Regions from separate parts of the Homo sapiens genome. Here all the other regions are linked to region 2. Evidence: promoter capture Hi-C in 16 types of primary human blood cells and fetal thymus (Javierre and others, 2016). All regions are on one chromosome and are shown on one strand. The core of a region is centred on a gene start or on the middle of the fragment in contact, and the rest is flanking DNA. Distances in the headings are between cores, read along the strand shown. Region 1 has its middle 54 kb from the start of TIMM21. Region 2 holds the start of CNDP1 (carnosine dipeptidase 1). Region 3 has its middle 20 kb from the start of TIMM21. Region 4 overlaps CYB5A (cytochrome b5 type A). Region 5 overlaps TIMM21 (translocase of inner mitochondrial membrane 21). Region 6 has its middle 36 kb from the start of TIMM21.

Evidence for each region. The method cuts DNA at HindIII sites, captures the fragments that hold promoters and counts their contacts. A CHiCAGO score of 5 or more calls a contact.
Region 1: a fragment that was not itself captured here is called in contact with the fragment with the promoter of CNDP1 in region 2 in 6 of 17 cell types (neutrophils, naive CD8 T cells, naive CD4 T cells and 3 more); the score reaches 10.0 in neutrophils.
Region 3: a contact is called between a fragment that was not itself captured here and the fragment with the promoter of CNDP1 in region 2, in 7 of 17 cell types (neutrophils, total CD4 T cells, naive CD8 T cells and 4 more). The highest score is 7.8, in neutrophils.
Region 4: a contact is called between a fragment that was not itself captured here and the fragment with the promoter of CNDP1 in region 2, in 1 of 17 cell types (neutrophils). The highest score is 5.4, in neutrophils.
Region 5: a contact is called between a fragment that was not itself captured here and the fragment with the promoter of CNDP1 in region 2, in 1 of 17 cell types (neutrophils). The highest score is 5.3, in neutrophils.
Region 6: a contact is called between a fragment that was not itself captured here and the fragment with the promoter of CNDP1 in region 2, in 2 of 17 cell types (neutrophils and activated CD4 T cells). The highest score is 6.7, in neutrophils.

Annotation. Positions count from the first base shown.
Region 1 is chr18:74,201,421-74,204,120 of GRCh38, forward strand. No RefSeq gene overlaps it. Among named protein-coding and RNA genes, the nearest start is that of TIMM21, 54 kb to the left of the region's middle. The HindIII fragment of the contact is 6,951 bases long and covers 1-2,700 here.
Region 2 is chr18:74,533,158-74,535,857 of GRCh38, forward strand. CNDP1 (carnosine dipeptidase 1) reads left to right here and starts at 1,343. Exons shown (of 12, transcript NM_032649.6): 1 at 1,343-1,534. The coding sequence starts at 1,511. The HindIII fragment of the contact is 13,353 bases long and covers 1-2,700 here.
Region 3 is chr18:74,166,898-74,169,690 of GRCh38, forward strand. No RefSeq gene overlaps it. Among named protein-coding and RNA genes, the nearest start is that of TIMM21, 20 kb to the left of the region's middle. The HindIII fragment of the contact is 4,386 bases long and covers 1-2,793 here.
Region 4 is chr18:74,251,666-74,254,438 of GRCh38, forward strand. CYB5A (cytochrome b5 type A) reads right to left here. Exons shown (of 5, transcript NM_148923.4): 5 at 1-2,000. The coding sequence ends at 1,919. Among named protein-coding and RNA genes, the nearest start is that of CYB5A, 39 kb to the right of the region's middle. The HindIII fragment of the contact is 2,287 bases long and covers 338-2,624 here.
Region 5 is chr18:74,150,009-74,152,708 of GRCh38, forward strand. The region is part of intron 1 of TIMM21 (translocase of inner mitochondrial membrane 21); the gene reads left to right. Among named protein-coding and RNA genes, the nearest start is that of TIMM21, 2.8 kb to the left of the region's middle. RefSeq lists an enhancer at 509-1,708. The HindIII fragment of the contact is 5,042 bases long and covers 1-2,700 here.
Region 6 is chr18:74,183,330-74,186,029 of GRCh38, forward strand. No RefSeq gene overlaps it. Among named protein-coding and RNA genes, the nearest start is that of TIMM21, 36 kb to the left of the region's middle. The HindIII fragment of the contact is 4,062 bases long and covers 1-2,700 here.

The DNA.
Region 1 (2,700 bases), core at 92-2,591, 330 kb before region 2:
AAGCCCAGGGTGCTCTACAAACAAACCTTGTGAAGCCAACACTTACCTTCCTGGTCATTTGCCCCCAACTGACTGCCCTACCCAAGCCCCTTTGTCTTGTCATGTTTCCACAATTTATGACACTTTGTTCAACCTAGTGCATAAGTTCGTGGCCCCAACTCCTTCTTTGGGTCTTCGTTTTTCTTGTGAGGGCTCCCATGTCTATACAAAAATTACTTAATAAAATCTGCCTACTTTTCTCCTCTGAAGCTGTCTCTGTCAGTGGATTCACTGGGCTCATCTAGCAACTCTAAAAGGGCTGAGGAGAAATTTTGCATCCCCAACACAAACTAAAACCTGAAAGATGACTTAGCTGCTCTAAATATTGACCTGGTCATCTATAAAATCAAGGTAAGTGTTGGAAGTTTGCTGCATCCCCCCAAAAAGATATGTAAATGTGACCTTATGTGGAAATACAATCATTGCAGATATCATTAATGTGTGAATGAAGATAGATCATACTGGATTTGGATGGGCCCTAAGTCCAGTGCCGGGTGTTCTTATGGGAAGAGGTGGGACACAGAGAGATACACATGCAGAGGCCAGGCGAGGACAGAGGCAGCGATTGGAGTAATGTACCCACATATCAAGGAACAGAGAGGATTGCCAACAACCACCTCTCCAGAGGCTGGAGGAAGCAGGATGGACCCTCCCCTAGAGTCTTCAGAGGGAGAATGGCCCTGAGGACACCTTGATTTTGGACTTCTGGCCTCCAGAGCTGTGGGAGAGTAAATTTCTGTTACTACACCACCTAGTCTATGGTACTTGGTTACAGCATCTCTGGGCAACTAATACAGTGGGCTGGCTGTGAGGATTAAATGAGATTACGTAAGTAAATGCTTGTTCAGTGTTATATATCATCCCCTTTTTTTTTTTCTCTTCCCTAGGAACTAGAAATAGAAATAAACCCAAGAAGGGCTTTGATAATGCTGCTGTCACCTGAGAACTTAAAGGTGAGTCCTGCTGTGCTTTGATCAATCTAACCAAAACGCACAACCAGATTATGCATTCAGAGGCTCAGAGATTTGGAGCTGAGGGGTTTGACCCCACAGATATGAGGGGTATCTGCATGAAGCCTTACAGGAAAGGGTCTCAGTCTGAGCTGGTGACTGGATGCCTCAATGGGCCCCAACCCTGGGCAGGGGGTCCTTGGGACATGGGAGGAGCAGAAGCTGCCAAGTGAATTGTTTTGCTCTGTGATGGCAGAAGGACCTCAGGCCAGTCAGAGCCCAGGACCCCAGTGATTGGTAAGATGAGGGACACAGGTGATCTCCAAGTCCTCTCCATCCTCTCACTTCAGTAGCGCAATGAGTCCAAAATGTGGGGATCCAGGAATCCCAAGAGACCAGCCCCTGAGGCAGTGATACCATATGAGTTGTGCTATTCCAAAAGGACATCTCAAATCCATATTTATGCTTGATGCCCAATCCTACTCAATCCTCTATACTTGTGAGAGTAGCTCAGTTGCTGGAAATCATTTTTTCAGTTTCGTTGAAGATTAGTTGGCCTCGAGGCTCTGGTCTAGTAGAAGAGAAGTCCAGCGTTTGAATCAGATCATGGAAGATGGCTCTAGAGGAAGCTGATGTGCACATGTGTGGAGCCTGGGGGTCACCAGCCCAGTCACAGCCACGGCCCACGAGGGTCACCAGCCCAGTCACAGCACGGCCCACAGAGTACGGTCTTCCCATGGCCACAGAAGGAAGGGCTGGCCTCCCTGGCCATGATGGTGCTCTCAGTGCCCACGTGACGGGGATGGCACCATGTTCTTCCCCAGGGCTGCCATAACAAGGAACCACACCCAGGAAGACTTAGATACAGCTGTGGAAGCTGGAATTCCGAGATGAAGGTGCCCAGGGGCTGGTTCCTTCCGAGGGCACGGAGAGAGAAGCTGTTCTTGGCCTCTCTCCCTGCTTCTGGCAGCTGCTGGCAACCTTTGGTGCTCGTTGGTGTGCAGAAGCATCACCTCGACTTCTGCCTCCATCTTCACAGGGCCTTCTCCCTGCATGCATGTCTGTCTCCGCATCCACATTTCCCCTTTTGAAAAGGACACAGTCATACTGGCTTAGGGCCCACCCTAATGACCACATTGGAATTTGATTGCCTCTATAAAGACCCTATCTCCAAATAAGGTCACATTCTGAGGTACTGGGGGTTAGGACTTCAACATATGAAATTTTAAGGGACACATTTCAACCCATAATTGGTGGGTGCCCTTGCCCCGGGACTCCAGCTTCAGGGGAGCTGGGGGAAGGCCTTAAAGGCTGTAACACACAGTAGCCACATGGACAGGTTTCTGTGGCTTGCCTTCCAGAACCCAAGGCTATGCGGCTGTCAGACTTTTTTAGCATCTAGTGTCAGAAACACAACTCAAGCAAGTTTAGGCATAAAGGAAATTTAACAACCTCTGGAATCAAAAAAAAAAAAAAAATGGGTGGGGATTGTTCAGCCAGATATAAGAAGGCCAGAGATGCAGCTGCCTTCAAGGATAGCTGGGTCAGGCCTTGACCCCACGAGGATCTCCTCTCTGCACGTCAGCTCCCTCCACGCGGTGCAGCTGGCTTCCTTGGTGGGCCAGGAACAAGGCTGCACAGTGGCCTCACAGCCTGCGTGTCAGGGATGGGCTCCTCTTTGGCTCTGCTTCAGAAAGTCCCAGGAGAGGCC
Region 2 (2,700 bases), core at 93-2,592:
TCCTAACCCCCAAGACCTCAGAATGTGACCTTCTATGGAGATAGGGTCATTGCAGATTGAATTACTTATCTTTAGATAAGGTCACATGGGCATAGGATGGACCCCTGATTACACACAACTGTGTCCTTATGAGAAGGGACAATCTGGACACACACACATACACAGGGAGAACATCATAAGAAGATGAGGGCAGAGATCGGGTGATGCTTGTACAAGACAAGGGACACCAAGGACGGCCAGCAGCCACGCGGGTCAAGGCCTGGAGCACGCCCTTCCCGCTCAGCCTCAGGAGAAACCTGCCCTGCCCATACCTTCATCTCAGACTTCCAGTCTCCAGAATTGAGACCGATTTCTGTTGCTTAAGCCACCCAGTGTAGGGTACTTTTGTTAGAGCAGATGTTGGGGCTCAGAAGCCAATACCCCAAAATATGGTGCTTTGTTCAAGCTGAACTGAAAAGGAACTTCAAGGCCTCTCGGCTCCCCCACCCCCACCATCTCTCCCAGAGTTCCTGAAGTGTCCTTATCTCCTTCAAGTCTGACCCACCAAAGAAGAAAGGAATGACCTCTAGTCCCTTCCCTGAGTTTTCGTTAACTGAACCCATATCTCAGGAAGGAAGGCTGACACCGAACACGCTGGACAGACTTGTCAAGACCATTGTCTGCTCCGGGGCCCAGCAGACTTGAACGAAGACCGTGGCGTGCTCTTCAAGCCCACTGAATCCTCCCTCGTGAGCGCTGATTGCCCTCAGCTGAAGTCCTCTTTTCTCCTCCCATAACCTGTTGCGCGAGAATCTAAGCCGCCACTCCTTGTGGAACCTCAAGAGGGTGTCTCAGCTTCCCAACCCCATTAGGGATTGGTCCTTCCTTCTGAAGGCTCCCATGTCACTTAAAACTAGGAGCAAATCAATCTGTTATGCCTCTTCTCCAATTCAACTGCCCTTTGCAAGCTGATTTTGCAGCGAACCTTCAGAGAGCTGGGAAAACTCTACCCTCGGCCCCTGCACAGCCCTAGGAAGCTAATCCTCGGCCGTAACATTCCATCACAAGGGCCCACAGCCACAGTGTGTGGGGGCCTGTCATGTGAGGGGGCTGTCACCTGAGGGGGCTGTGCCGCTGGCTCAGCTCTGCCTGCTGGCCGGGGCCCTACTCCCTCTCAGAGATGACACACAAGTGCCCCCAAAGAAGAACCCGAGGAGTCGCAGGCTGGGCCAGGCTGCTGGCTTCCAGTGACATCACATGACTTTGGGGCCACTGCCTCATCCCGTATCTGCGCGTATGAGATGCATTGTCTCTTCCTCTGCAGTTGAGCTGAATGAATACCTCCGAAGCCGCTTTGTTCTCCAGATGTGAATAGCTCCACTATACCAGCCTCGTCTTCCTTCCGGGGGACAACGTGGGTCAGGGCACAGAGAGATATTTAATGTCACCCTCTTGGGGCTTTCATGGGACTCCCTCTGCCACATTTTTTGGAGGTTGGGAAAGTTGCTAGAGGCTTCAGAACTCCAGCCTAATGGATCCCAAACTCGGGAGAATGGTGAGTAGGACCTCCTCCATCAGAGTCCGTGCATTGGGTGCCAGAATTCCATTTGTCCCGGGAGCATGTGCGTTAAGCCCAGTTGGGCAGGGCAGGCACCCAGCGTGGCCCCAGATGCTGCTCCTCATGGTGTTCTTAGGTGCTGTCTTGGCCGAGGAATGTGGTATTTGGAATTATATTTTATCAGTAATGCTTTTGGGTAGTTGTGTGTTCTTAACAATAATTAAATGGCATTATTGTCAAGTAGTTCATATTCAAATTGTTCATGAACTCAGTCTTCTTAAATCAATTTTTTTCTGTACTTTTTCTCTTTAAAAAAAATGAGTTTGCTTCCTGGAAGAATTTGCCTAAATAATGGTAACAGACAGTGTGCTGTTTGTCCTGGTCCCAGGTTCCCGACTTAAGGGCTAGTTTGCAAGAGCTAATCACCGGGCTAAATCACCCCAGGCCTTTCTCGGCGAGGTTTCCATGGTTCAGGTGCAAACCTGAGTGTGGGTGTGGCGGGAAGGCTTCTCTCTAGGAAAACAAGCAGGCAGGTACCTTTGGCTGTGAGGTTTTGTGGGGTTGTGTTCCAGACTACTTGGAAAGATAAAATTCATGGACGCTTTTTATTTCCATTGCAAACACACACATACACACACAGAAATTTTCAGAATTTTGTGGAAGGTTGATACGTAGAAGACTCTCAAAAGACATACTGAAACAAATACATGCAAATGCGAGGCTGGAGACACAGTGAGCAGGCAGGTGGTGACCTGACCACAGCCGGATTCTAGAAGTGGGCTTTGCCCACCTGCAAGACCATGAGATTCCCACACCATGCTGCAAAATCACTGCTCTGAGAGAAAGAACCTCACCCTGTGGTCTGGCCATGCTTTCCATTGCTGACTTTTTTTTTTTTTTAAAGAACCCATGACTGGCCAGGGCATTGGGGTGGGGGTTAGAAGAGGACATTTCACTGAATACTGTCTTACTTTAAAAAATCTTTAAACTGTGTCATGATAGTATCTATTCAAAACATTAAAGTTAAAAGCAACATGAAAGAAAATAATTTCCCTGGCTGGGCATGGTGGCTTATGTCTGCAATCCCAACACTTTAGGAGGCCAAAGCAGGAGGATCACCTGAGCCCAGGAGTTCAAGACTGGCCTGGGCAACATAGTGAGAC
Region 3 (2,793 bases), core at 133-2,632, 370 kb before region 2:
TGACAGGGATGGACAGGTGAGATGCACAGATAATAGACAGCTGGATGGATGGACAGGCCAGAAAGGAAGAAGGAAGAAACAAGGACAGAACCATGGAAAGAAGAGAGGGGAAAGCTAAGGGTAGCAGAGGCTGATGCCTCCTGTTACAGACTGAACTATGTCTCCCTCTGGCCTCCAAAACCCCTGTGATGAAACCTCCCAACCCCAGCACCTCTGAATGTAGCTGAATTTGAGGATAGGGCTTTTAAAGGGGTGATTAAGTTATAATGAGGGTGGAGGGCCCTCATCCAATTTGATTTGTCCTTATAATGAAAGGAAATCTGGGCACACAGAGACACCAGGGAGGCATTTGCACAGAGGAAGTAGCATGTGAGGACACTGCAAGAAGGTGGACATCTGCAAGCCGAGGAGAGATCTCAGGAGAAACCCACCCTGCTGACACCTTGATCTTGGACTTTCAGCCTCCAGGACTGTGGGAAAATAAACGTCTGTTGTTTAATCCCCCAAGCCAGTGGTATTCTGTTATGGCAGCTAACTTTAAGAAGTTGTAAGTGATTGTAGCAGCGTGACTTCCAGCCGTGCATTGTAAGAAACCCTGTGGCGTCGCATCCTGCCCTACCCTGTGACTGTCAGTCTTGTTCATATTTGCCAGCCACATGGTGTAAAAGGGGTCTCTTGGTGGTCTTGACTCCCATTCACTAATCATTAATGAACATTTTTATGTGGTTTACGTGTTCCTTCTTCTGGACAAATGCCTGTTCATGTCTTTTGCATGTGCTTTTATTGGTATTTTTCTGTTTTCTTTGTGTTTGTTTATTTGTTTGTTTTTGTTTTTTTGAGACCAAGTCTCACTCTGTTGCCCAGGCTGGAGGTGCAGTGGCATGATCTGGGCTCACTACAACCTCCTCCTCCCAGGCTCAAACGATTCTCCTGCCTCTGCCTCCCAAGTAGCTGGGATTACAGGTGCCCACTACCACTCCCTGATAATTTTTGTATTTTTAGTAGAGACAGGGTTTCACCATATTAGCCAGGCTGGTCTCAAACTCCTGACCTCAAGTGATCCACCTGCCTTGGCCTCCCAAAGTGTTGGAATTACAGGCATGAGCCACCATGCCTGGCCTCTATTTTCTTATTAATTTGTAAGAAGGTTTTTATATATTTGATAGTAATATTCCATTGGTTGTGTGCATAAAAGACTATCTCCAAGTTTTAAACTTGCTATTTTGCTTTATATATGATATCTTTGGATGATCAAATGTTTTTAACGATAATAAAGTCAAGATCAAGTGTATCTTTTCTTTTAAAGTAAAAAGGTACTGTGTCTTATGTAGGTACTCTTTCTCAAGTTTTTGTGTAAGGAGTCTAAACCAAGATTGAAAGGATATTCATCTCCATTGTCTATTAACCATTTTAAGTTTTGTTTTTGATATTAAGTCATTAATTCATCTGGAGTTGATTATTTTTATTTTAAGAGTATGAAGTAGTGATCCAACTTTATGTTTTCCGTATGGATGACCATGCATTCCAGCTCCATTTACTGAACTGACATCTACGTCTGTCATACACCGAAATCCCATATGTGTACAGGTCTATTTTTTGGCTCTCTTTCATTCTATTGGTTAATTTTTGCTAATACCAATACTGCACTTATCTATTTACTACATAGCTTCATAGTAGATGCTGATACCTAGTAAGAGAAAGTCACTCTCCCTACTCTTCTTATTCAGAAATACTCTAGCTAATGTTAGCTCTTTACTTTAACATAATATTTAGCATTATTTTCATCAACATCCATGGGAAGCCCTTTCGGGATTTTCTATGGTCTCTCTATTTAATTTATTAAAAAATTGGGGAAGTAATATGTCTATAGGAATGATAATCAAATTTTCTAAAAATTATCGGCATTCCGAGGCTTGTGGCCACATCACCCCCGTCTCTGCCTCCATCTTTACATCATAATCTCCTCTGCACTTGTCTTCTCTTCTGTGTCTGTCTTACAAAAATACATGCCCTTGAATTTAGGGCCCACCCCTATAACCCAGGACTAATGCATCCTCTCAAAATCCTTAACTTAAGCACATATTTTACCATAGAAGATAATATCCGCAGGTTCCCAGATTGAAATGTGAACCCACCTTGTGGGAGACCACCCCTCAGGAGGCCACCAAAAGCATCTGCTACAGCAGTGTGTGGCCCGAGGTCATCTTACCATACACGCCTGGAACCAGGGATGTCTGATTTTCAAATCCTGAGTGTTTACACATCACCTAATGTTGCCTTTCATGTTTTTTTTGTTTTTTTACCTGCCTACATTTCAGTTTCCCCATCTCTTAAATGAGGACAATAATACCTACTTCTTAGGGATTTTGTAAGGACCATATGAGGCCATAGGGAAGGGGCTTCAGCAGTAGCTGGCACATGGTTACCCCGCAACTGTCGGTATGTTTCTTGCCTTCCTTTTACATTGTACATAGAGAAGGCATCATTTTAATTCCTGTATCTCCAGTTACTACAGTATTTGGATGTTAATAAGTTCTCAGAAAAAAAAAAATGTGTTAAATCTAAACCTTATAAGTACCTATAGTTCTAATACCCAAGCAATGCATTATTCAAAAAGTGACTGAGAAAGCTACCAAATTCCTGGAGTGCCAGCCATGAGAGATAGGAGGCTGCAAAAATTACGGATGTGTCCCGTTGCATACAAAAGTGGTCTTGCATAAGCAACATAAATCTAATGCCTCTAGAAGGCTGAATCACCATGAGGAGCAGGGCTGGCAGGAGAAACACATATGC
Region 4 (2,773 bases), core at 231-2,730, 280 kb before region 2:
AGCAATAGAGAAAAAAGTGTCAAATATCTTTCCTTGAGAGTCTGGCTGCACAAACTGTAAATGTTAAAATTAGGAAGTAAACTCTCCTTTACTCCACATGTTGTTCCCAAAACACATGAAGAAACATTGCCAGCCACAGCAGCAAATTGCTGAGTCACTGATAAAAATGTCAAAGTTCAACTGTTATGTTTCTTAACGATATACAGATGCTATTACTCAACATCTTAAAAATGATTTACAAGTTAACCCTTTAATGTCATCTAAGGTACGACTGACCCACTTCGATTCACTTCATAGTTGATTTAGGAGCAATGTTTTAAAAACTACTAAAATGTGAAGCTTTATAGCTAAAAATCACAACCAAAAATATTGAAATATTTACATAGGTCCCTTAACAAGTGTTGTAATTTATTTTGAAATAGAAACTACTTGTCAACTTTCAGTGACTAAAGAAGGCAAAGGCGGTGCATCCTATTTGATTATAAAGGTTGTACTCTGTAAGAACAACACAATTCCTTTCCACTGCACGCGGTCACTTCTGAAGAACCTCGTGGTTTGTCAGCTCATGCCAGTGCAAATGCAGTCACAGCCAATGACACATGTACTGGGTTCTAACAAATTCAGCTTTCAAGTTTCCACATTTAAAAGAATAACACATAAGGCAGAGAATAATAAATGGGAAGTAAGATGACTGAATCAGCCCCTTAGAGCCCCCAGGAGGAGACAGAGCCACACCAGAACTCTTCAGAGCTTGACACTAGCCGCTAAATTTCTTCAAAGATCAGATTCCAATGTCCCACAATCTCCTTACAAATTAGAAAACCAGCCTTTCCTTAGAAGAGTTTACAAACAATTCTACTCTCTGAATGAGGAATTCTTAAAACTTTAGAACCTATGAAGCTGTGAGTGCCTTTGCAATGATACGTGTAAGCTGAGAGAATGGACAGTTGCGATGCCCTCTCATGGTTCATGTGTTTTTAAGTTGCTGATGTTTTTCAATCAGTGAAGATAAGAAGTCTCTCTTATAGGCCCTGTAGGCTACTTTCTTTTTTTTTTGAGACAGAGTTTCACTCTTGTTGCCCAGCTGGAGTTCAACGGCGCGATCTCAGCTCACTACAACCTCTGCCTCCTGGGTTCAAGCAATTCTCCTGCCTCAGCCTCCCAAGTAGCCGGGATTACAGGCATGCGCCACTACGCCCTGCTAATTTTGTATTTTTAGTAGAGACAGGGTTTCACCATGTTGGTCAGGCTGGTCTTGAACTCCTGACCTCAAGTGATCCACCCACCTCAGCCTCCCAAAGTGCTGGGCTTACAGGTGTGAGCCACGATGCCCAGCCGCTACTTTCTTTTTAAGATCTATTTCAAGTAGGACAATTATTAGAAATCCTTAAACTATAATTTCTGGCCTTTCTTAATTTCCTTGAAAAAAAGAAACTATATCGGAAGCATACAATACATGGTTACTCAATGAGATGTGACGATGTGAAAGGAGACACTCAAACCTATTTCCCGCACCTCCAGTCATATGGCCTCTGTGGGTCTGGATGAGTAACACATTGAAGGAATCCTCTAAATAACCAGATTCTAAACATTAAAGACAATTATACACCAAACAGGCAAACACGGTGCATACTTTAAAAGCCAAATATATTTTTAAAAGATCATGCTTATAATAAGTAAATTACACATTAAGGAAACATCAAAATAAAGTAGATGAATAAAAAGGCACACTCGAAAAATTTGAGCGCAGAAAGGACAGTTCTTTTTGTTTTGTTTCTAATGTCGGAAGAAAAAGAAAGAGATATATTAAAATCATTGTTTTCAAGTGAAGGTTTCTGTCAGTTGAAGTAGTTAGCAATGGCTTCTTTTCTCCCGTGTCCAAAGCAGGCTCTTCCTGCGCTGACTTCTGAGGAGGTGTTCAGTCCTCTGCCATGTATAGGCGATACATCAAGGCGACGGCCACTGCAGAGATGGCAGGGATCACCCAGTTGGTCCACCAACTAGAAAGACACAAAAAGCAATGATGCTGACATGATGTGCACTGTGGTGGACTCAAAATCTTTGCTCCTTCTAACAGAAAATTACCAGGGCATGTTTTTCTTAACTCTGTAATGAATTTTGCTGAAAAGGCAACGTGGATTTGCTAAAAGTGACATGAGTGTAACACATGCCCTGCTATACTAGGAATCACTCTGCCCTGCTGGCTTTATGAGAAAACTCATGCCCCACTTGGCTGGGCTCAGTGGCTCACGCCTGTAATCCCAGCACTTTGGGAGGCCAAGGCAGACGGATCACTTGAGGTCAGAAGTTTGAGACCAGCCTGGCCAACATAGTAAAAACCTTCTACCAAAAAATACAAAAAGTAGCTGGGCGTGGTGGCAGTAGCTAATTGTAATCCCAGCTACTTGGGAGGCTGGGGCAGGAGAATCGCTTGAACCTGGGAGGCAGAGGTTGCAGTGAGCCGAGATCACGCCACTGCACTCCAGCCTGTGTGATAGAGCGAGACTGTCTCAAAAACAAACTAACAAAAATAAACAAACCAAAAAATGAATGCCCCACCAGCTGTAAAGTTGAAGAGTATGGGCCCTGTGATGATTAACACTGCCATTAACACCACAGCTTTAAGCTTAGGTTTGGAAAATCTAATCTTTACTACCTGTGCTGAAGTGGATTTAAAGGGTTAAGAAACAGAATGGCCAGACTACTTGGTGTGTGGTCCACAGGTCTAAATTCACCAAAAAAAAAAAAAAAAAAGCCTAAATTTACAGTCCTG
Region 5 (2,700 bases), core at 18-2,517, 380 kb before region 2:
CTATGAAGCATTGTGGTAGGAGGTATAGGGTACAATTGTCTTTTACTTGGGAGGGCATGTCTTGGCACGCCCCAGTGTAGCCCCACGAGGTCGGCTCATGTGTTGATGAGCCTCTGCATCTTTGTTGGACCCACCTCTCACACTTGCAGCTTCTCTGACCAAGCCTTCTAACACACTTGCCACTTGTTACTTATGGGCTCTAACATGATGGCATAAATATAGTAGACAAATGTGATATTCTCCTGAATGTCCAGAACAGCATTATTCAAATAAAACTTTCTGCATAGAAATGTCCTATATCTGTGCTGTCCATTTGGGTAGTTCCTGGCCACTTGTAGCTATTTTGAGCACTTGAAATGTTGCTAAAACTTGTGACTGAAGAACTGAATTGATTTAATTTTAATTAATTTAAAATTGAACTGAAATAGCCATGAGTGGCAAGTGGCTACTGTATTAGACAGCCCAGGTCCAGAAGGTTTCAGTCCCTTAAGACTGTTATGATAGAGGGTGAGAGAATTAGCAAATCCTGGGCAGGATCATAAACATACACTGTTATTATCTGTTTCATGTTACTACAGACTACTGCTGCTGCTTCTGAATAGAAGGCGTTCTTCAAAGCAATGGCCAATACCATGAGATTGTGTTAATGCATTCCCCTGTAAAGTTACCATTTGTGGTATTACATGTGTACCCCGGCTGCCACTTGGTTGAGTTTGCAGTTAACCACTGTCATTCTCCAGCACCTATTTGTGTTTTGTAAAGGAAGACTGGTAAATTACAAGGGACCGTGATGGGGATCGCCATGCCTGTATCTAAGGTCTCTAAGAATACTCTGCCATTCCCCATAGATGTGATATCATTTTTAATTTCCTATCTTGGTCACCGAAAGGGCAGCTTCAGGGGCTTCCATTTGACTTTTCCCACTGCGATGGCTCTTAACCCACTTCCAAAGGAACTAAAGTGGGAGTTATTGTTGCCAGTTACTCAGTACATCCCCTTGATTTATACATTTGGAAATCACAGAAATTATTGCCAGGTAAGTCCCTGGACCCACCTGTGAGCTTCTTACATCCGGTGATGGAGGGCGGTCAGGGGGTCATCATGACTCTTTGGGTCCTTGGGTATCACTGTCAGCACAGACTATGTCCAAGTTGATAACTGTAGGTCCTTTTGGTGAAGGACGGGGGGAGTCAGTTACATACGCTTTCCTTCAGTAAATGCGTTCCAGGTCTGAAAACTGGTTCAGGTCCAGAAACTGGGGCAATGTTCAGGACTTTGCATTAGAGCAGCTGCCTTCAGCCTCAGGAATCATCTGTAGTTAATTTCTCATGACTGTGTAATTCAGAAGTAGCCTTGTCCGCTGCCCTTGTGTCTTCCCTTTGGAAACACTGTGTTCTAGTCATCAACTCTGTTGCTTTCTGTAGGTCAGACACTCCCGACTGCCACTCCAGCCTTGCCATTAGTTATGATGGTTGCACCCACCTTGGCTTCTGTTTAACACCCCAGCCTGGTCTCTGCTTCATAATTCTTTCATCTCCATTTCTGTCAGGGCATCCTGCTCTATAAAGATGTAACTGTGGCTTCCTTGTGGCTTTGGTACACAGTGTCCTCCTGTCCCTCCTAAGAACATAGTCAGCTGGTGGGTTTTCGGGCTTTATATCTTATATCTATGGTAGCATCCCCATTCTTGGAGGCTGTTGAGCCTTTCGTCCAGTTTGCCATGGCTGTTCTGTCACTTTTACTTAATGTGGACCATCACTGTCTCGAAGTTTCCAGGAGCAGACCTAGCCAGCTGCATATCAGTTCCCAGGGTGCTTGCCTGGTTGCTAAATTCATCACAGGAGCGTGCCCCATGCTGATCAACTCTCAGCTGGTTTTGTGTTCTGTGCCCTTGACACACCACCCTTAAGAAGCAGTGGTGTCTATGTTCCCCCCCCCCCCGGGGGGACCTCCAGCTCCTTCCGAGTATTGTTCTTCTCACCCTTCTCATGCCCAGTCGTGTTGTAACTTGGCCAGGAGGGGAGGTGGAGAGCCCTCCTGAGAGCAGCACGTATCTTGCTAGGCAGAAACCCCCACCCACCCCTCGCCCAGTTTCCAAGGTGGAGGAAGTGCCAACCTTTACCAGACACTGAGCTGCTGCTTCAGGGCTAGAGGGGTCAGGAGAATTGGGATTCAAGATTTTTTACAACATTGACCTCAAGGGCCCCCTACCCAGCTTTAGGTTGCCTTTCCTCCCAAATCAGGACCCTGACCTTGGTGTGGGAGGTCTCATGGGCTTGAAATGCCAAACTCCCTGAATCCCTTCCGCCCCAGACCTCACCCACGCATTTTCTATCCTCTGGGTGCAATTTGAGTCTTGTTCTGCCGGGGAGGAGGCTCCTGCCCTTGGCACTCACCTTCACTGGTGATTAGTTACACACTTCATCTCACCATCCCTCTCCATGGCCCCAGCCACAGCCGTCTGATATAAGTCCTTAAAATTGCTGATTCCTCCTAAACTCCCAGAATAACACATCAGCCAGTACATTCCCTTCCGCCAGCATTCCATCCCAGGTCCCCATTGGTGAGAGCTGCATCAGCTGCACTACAGCTCTATGACAGGTGCTGTCAGTACCCCCCTACCACCAGGGACAGGGTCCTCATTGCCAGCCAGTGGCCGGCAAGCCAGCTCCAAAATCCAAATTGAGAGCTGCTTACCAC
Region 6 (2,700 bases), core at 134-2,633, 350 kb before region 2:
TTTCACTGGGCAATTCAATCCCTTCTACTCCCTGGTCTCATGTTACACAGAGGAAACAAGAGCATATCTGTGCTTCATAATAGACATGAACTTAAAAGAATAAACCCCACACATGTGTGTACTAACATTCCTCTACTTATTAACACCAATAAAAATTAGGCATGCCCTAATACATTCACATTCCTTTTTGGCACATTTGAGATTAGCTTTTCTTTCCAGAGCATCCTTACAAATCCACAGGTCTGCAAATACTGACCTTACCTGAACTAAGGTTGTCATTTTCTTTTTAAGCTCGTTACTGCAATGAGACCATCAGAAGTTTCTTTATGCCAGTTCCTTTGTCGTGATATCATTGAGAGGCCCGATATATGGGATGCATTCCCTCCAAGAGCACTGTCTGGAGGGGTGGAGAATGGTGCTGGAGAGAATCATGACTCAGGCAGTGGGAGCACACAGGACCCGGAGAGGCAGTGCCATCCATTCTCCTTAGGCCACATTTCCCAAGGAAATCGGGAAAAACATTTTTTTTAAAGCTCATAATGTCACATTATGTTAATTAAAGTTAATTAAAATGGAAATGAAGTAATTTAATTTAAACAATTTAATTAAAATGTTTGAAATTTCTATTTTATTTCCACTACAACCTATCTGCTTTAATTTTTAAACCTGTCTTCAAACTGTAATTATGCCTCTTTCTCTTTAATAAGTTCCACCTTACTCATTAACCATCTTTCTGTCACAGTTTATTGAGAGTTCCATTTAAGAAGCCCATAGTGTATGTATTTGGGAAATTCAGATCTTCAAACAAAGTACACGAGCTTAGAATGTGATCTAGAAGGCACAAGCCAGTGGGTAGGGAGGTTTTGGGGGGCTAGGACCTTTCCATTTCCCTACATTATTACTGTGCCCACCACCACTTAAAGAAAGGTTCCAGGCTCACCCCTAAAGCTGCCATCTGACTTAATAAGGTCAGTCTACAAGGTATTGTTTGTCTTAACAGTAATTTAGCAAGGTCCTTTTCTTTGGTTTCCAGAAAGCCAATGTAGTAGGTTTCACTGCTCATGTTTTTTAATGAAGGGAAACGGCTTTAAGTTTTTGTAAGTCTTTGGTAACAATGGGCTAAATTTCCCCAGCAGTATTTCGGAAGACCTTCTTAACTTGCCTCATTACTCTTTAGCACATACCTATGAGCCTTGATTCTTAGAAGAATAAGAAGAAAACGCTCTTCTGGGTGTTACAGCTGGCAGACTTGAAAAGGGCAATTTACTTTCCTTTGTTTACCTCTTTTATTCACTGTTCTTCTCTAAAGAAATACAAATGTGCCAATTAGGTAGAAAATACAAATGTGCCAGTTAGGGAGAAAAGATTTGCAACACAGGTGGATTCCTCTATTCACCAAAGATTCATCTCAGTTTCTTTCCAAAAGCAAGACCCTTAACTACATTTAATTATAATTTATATATTCTAGAACAATATTCACAATCATACAGAGGCATTAATCATACAGAGGTATTAATTTTTAAAGTTCCAATAACACAAAAGGTGGAAAATGCAGGTTTGACTGGTATCCCAGGTGGTACAGTGAGCAGCTGCCATCTCACCTTTGCCAAATGCATTGGAAAACTCTCCAAGGGCCTCAAAGTGGGGCTGTAGCTTACGGTCCCTTTCAGGCCCATGAGAACCTGGGTGGGGTGGGAAAGGTGAAAAATGCATGCCTTCCTGTGTGGGACAGTAAATGTAGGTAATCTGGAATGTGTGAGGTTTGGCCTCGGGCACCTAGTGAAGCAGCGTCATTGTCTGGGGTAAATACCAGAAGTTCATTGTCTCACACCAAGGGAATCAAGGATGTGGACACACAAAAAGTGAGTTTAAAGAGCAGAGGTTTAATAGGTGAAAGAAAGAAAAGAGAAGAGCTCTGTCTCTTGCAGAGAGAGAGGGGCTCCTAAGTGGGACTTCTGGTCTGCAGCAAAGTGCACGGGGGTTTTATAGGCTGATAGACTGTCTTGAAGAGGCGGTGTCTGATTTACAAAGGGCCCAAAAATTGGTTGGACCAGGTGTGCTATTTATGTAGTGTGCAAAGAAGCTGGCCACCCCACCTTAATTTTTATTATGCAGATGTGTTCTCTATCTGGCTGGCACCATGTTGTCTGTTCCTTATTGTACACGTGGTTGACAAAGAAAAGGGAAGATAGAGCCTTCGTGTTGAATATACCTGCCCCCCAGGTAGACTTTTCCTATTGGCATAGCTGCCGGCATTCACCTGGGCAGGATTCCAGCTTGCTTATCTATGTCTGCAGCTCGATTTTAGAGGCTGCTCTTTGGTAGAAAAGAAATGATTTGGGGGCTGCTTTTCATTAAAAAGAAAACCTTACCAAGGACACGTCTACACTCACTACCTGCCTAAATCATTTCTTTTTAACTCCTATATCACTAGGGCTGCTTTGAAATACTGGAAGGATCATGAGCTCATCCTGGGACTGAGAGGGAAACTGAAATGGCAGGAAATATGAAAAAGTTTGGAAACTTTGAGTGAGGCTTGGGCAAGACTGTGTTTCCACAGCAGATTGATGTCTGGGTTCTGATTAAATACTTCTAAAATCCCCTAAGATTCTTCCAGGCAGCCAAATGGTGATTCCACTGATTCTACCATTCTACTAGAATGGTGATTGTAACTGATTCTACAGCAATAACCAACATATG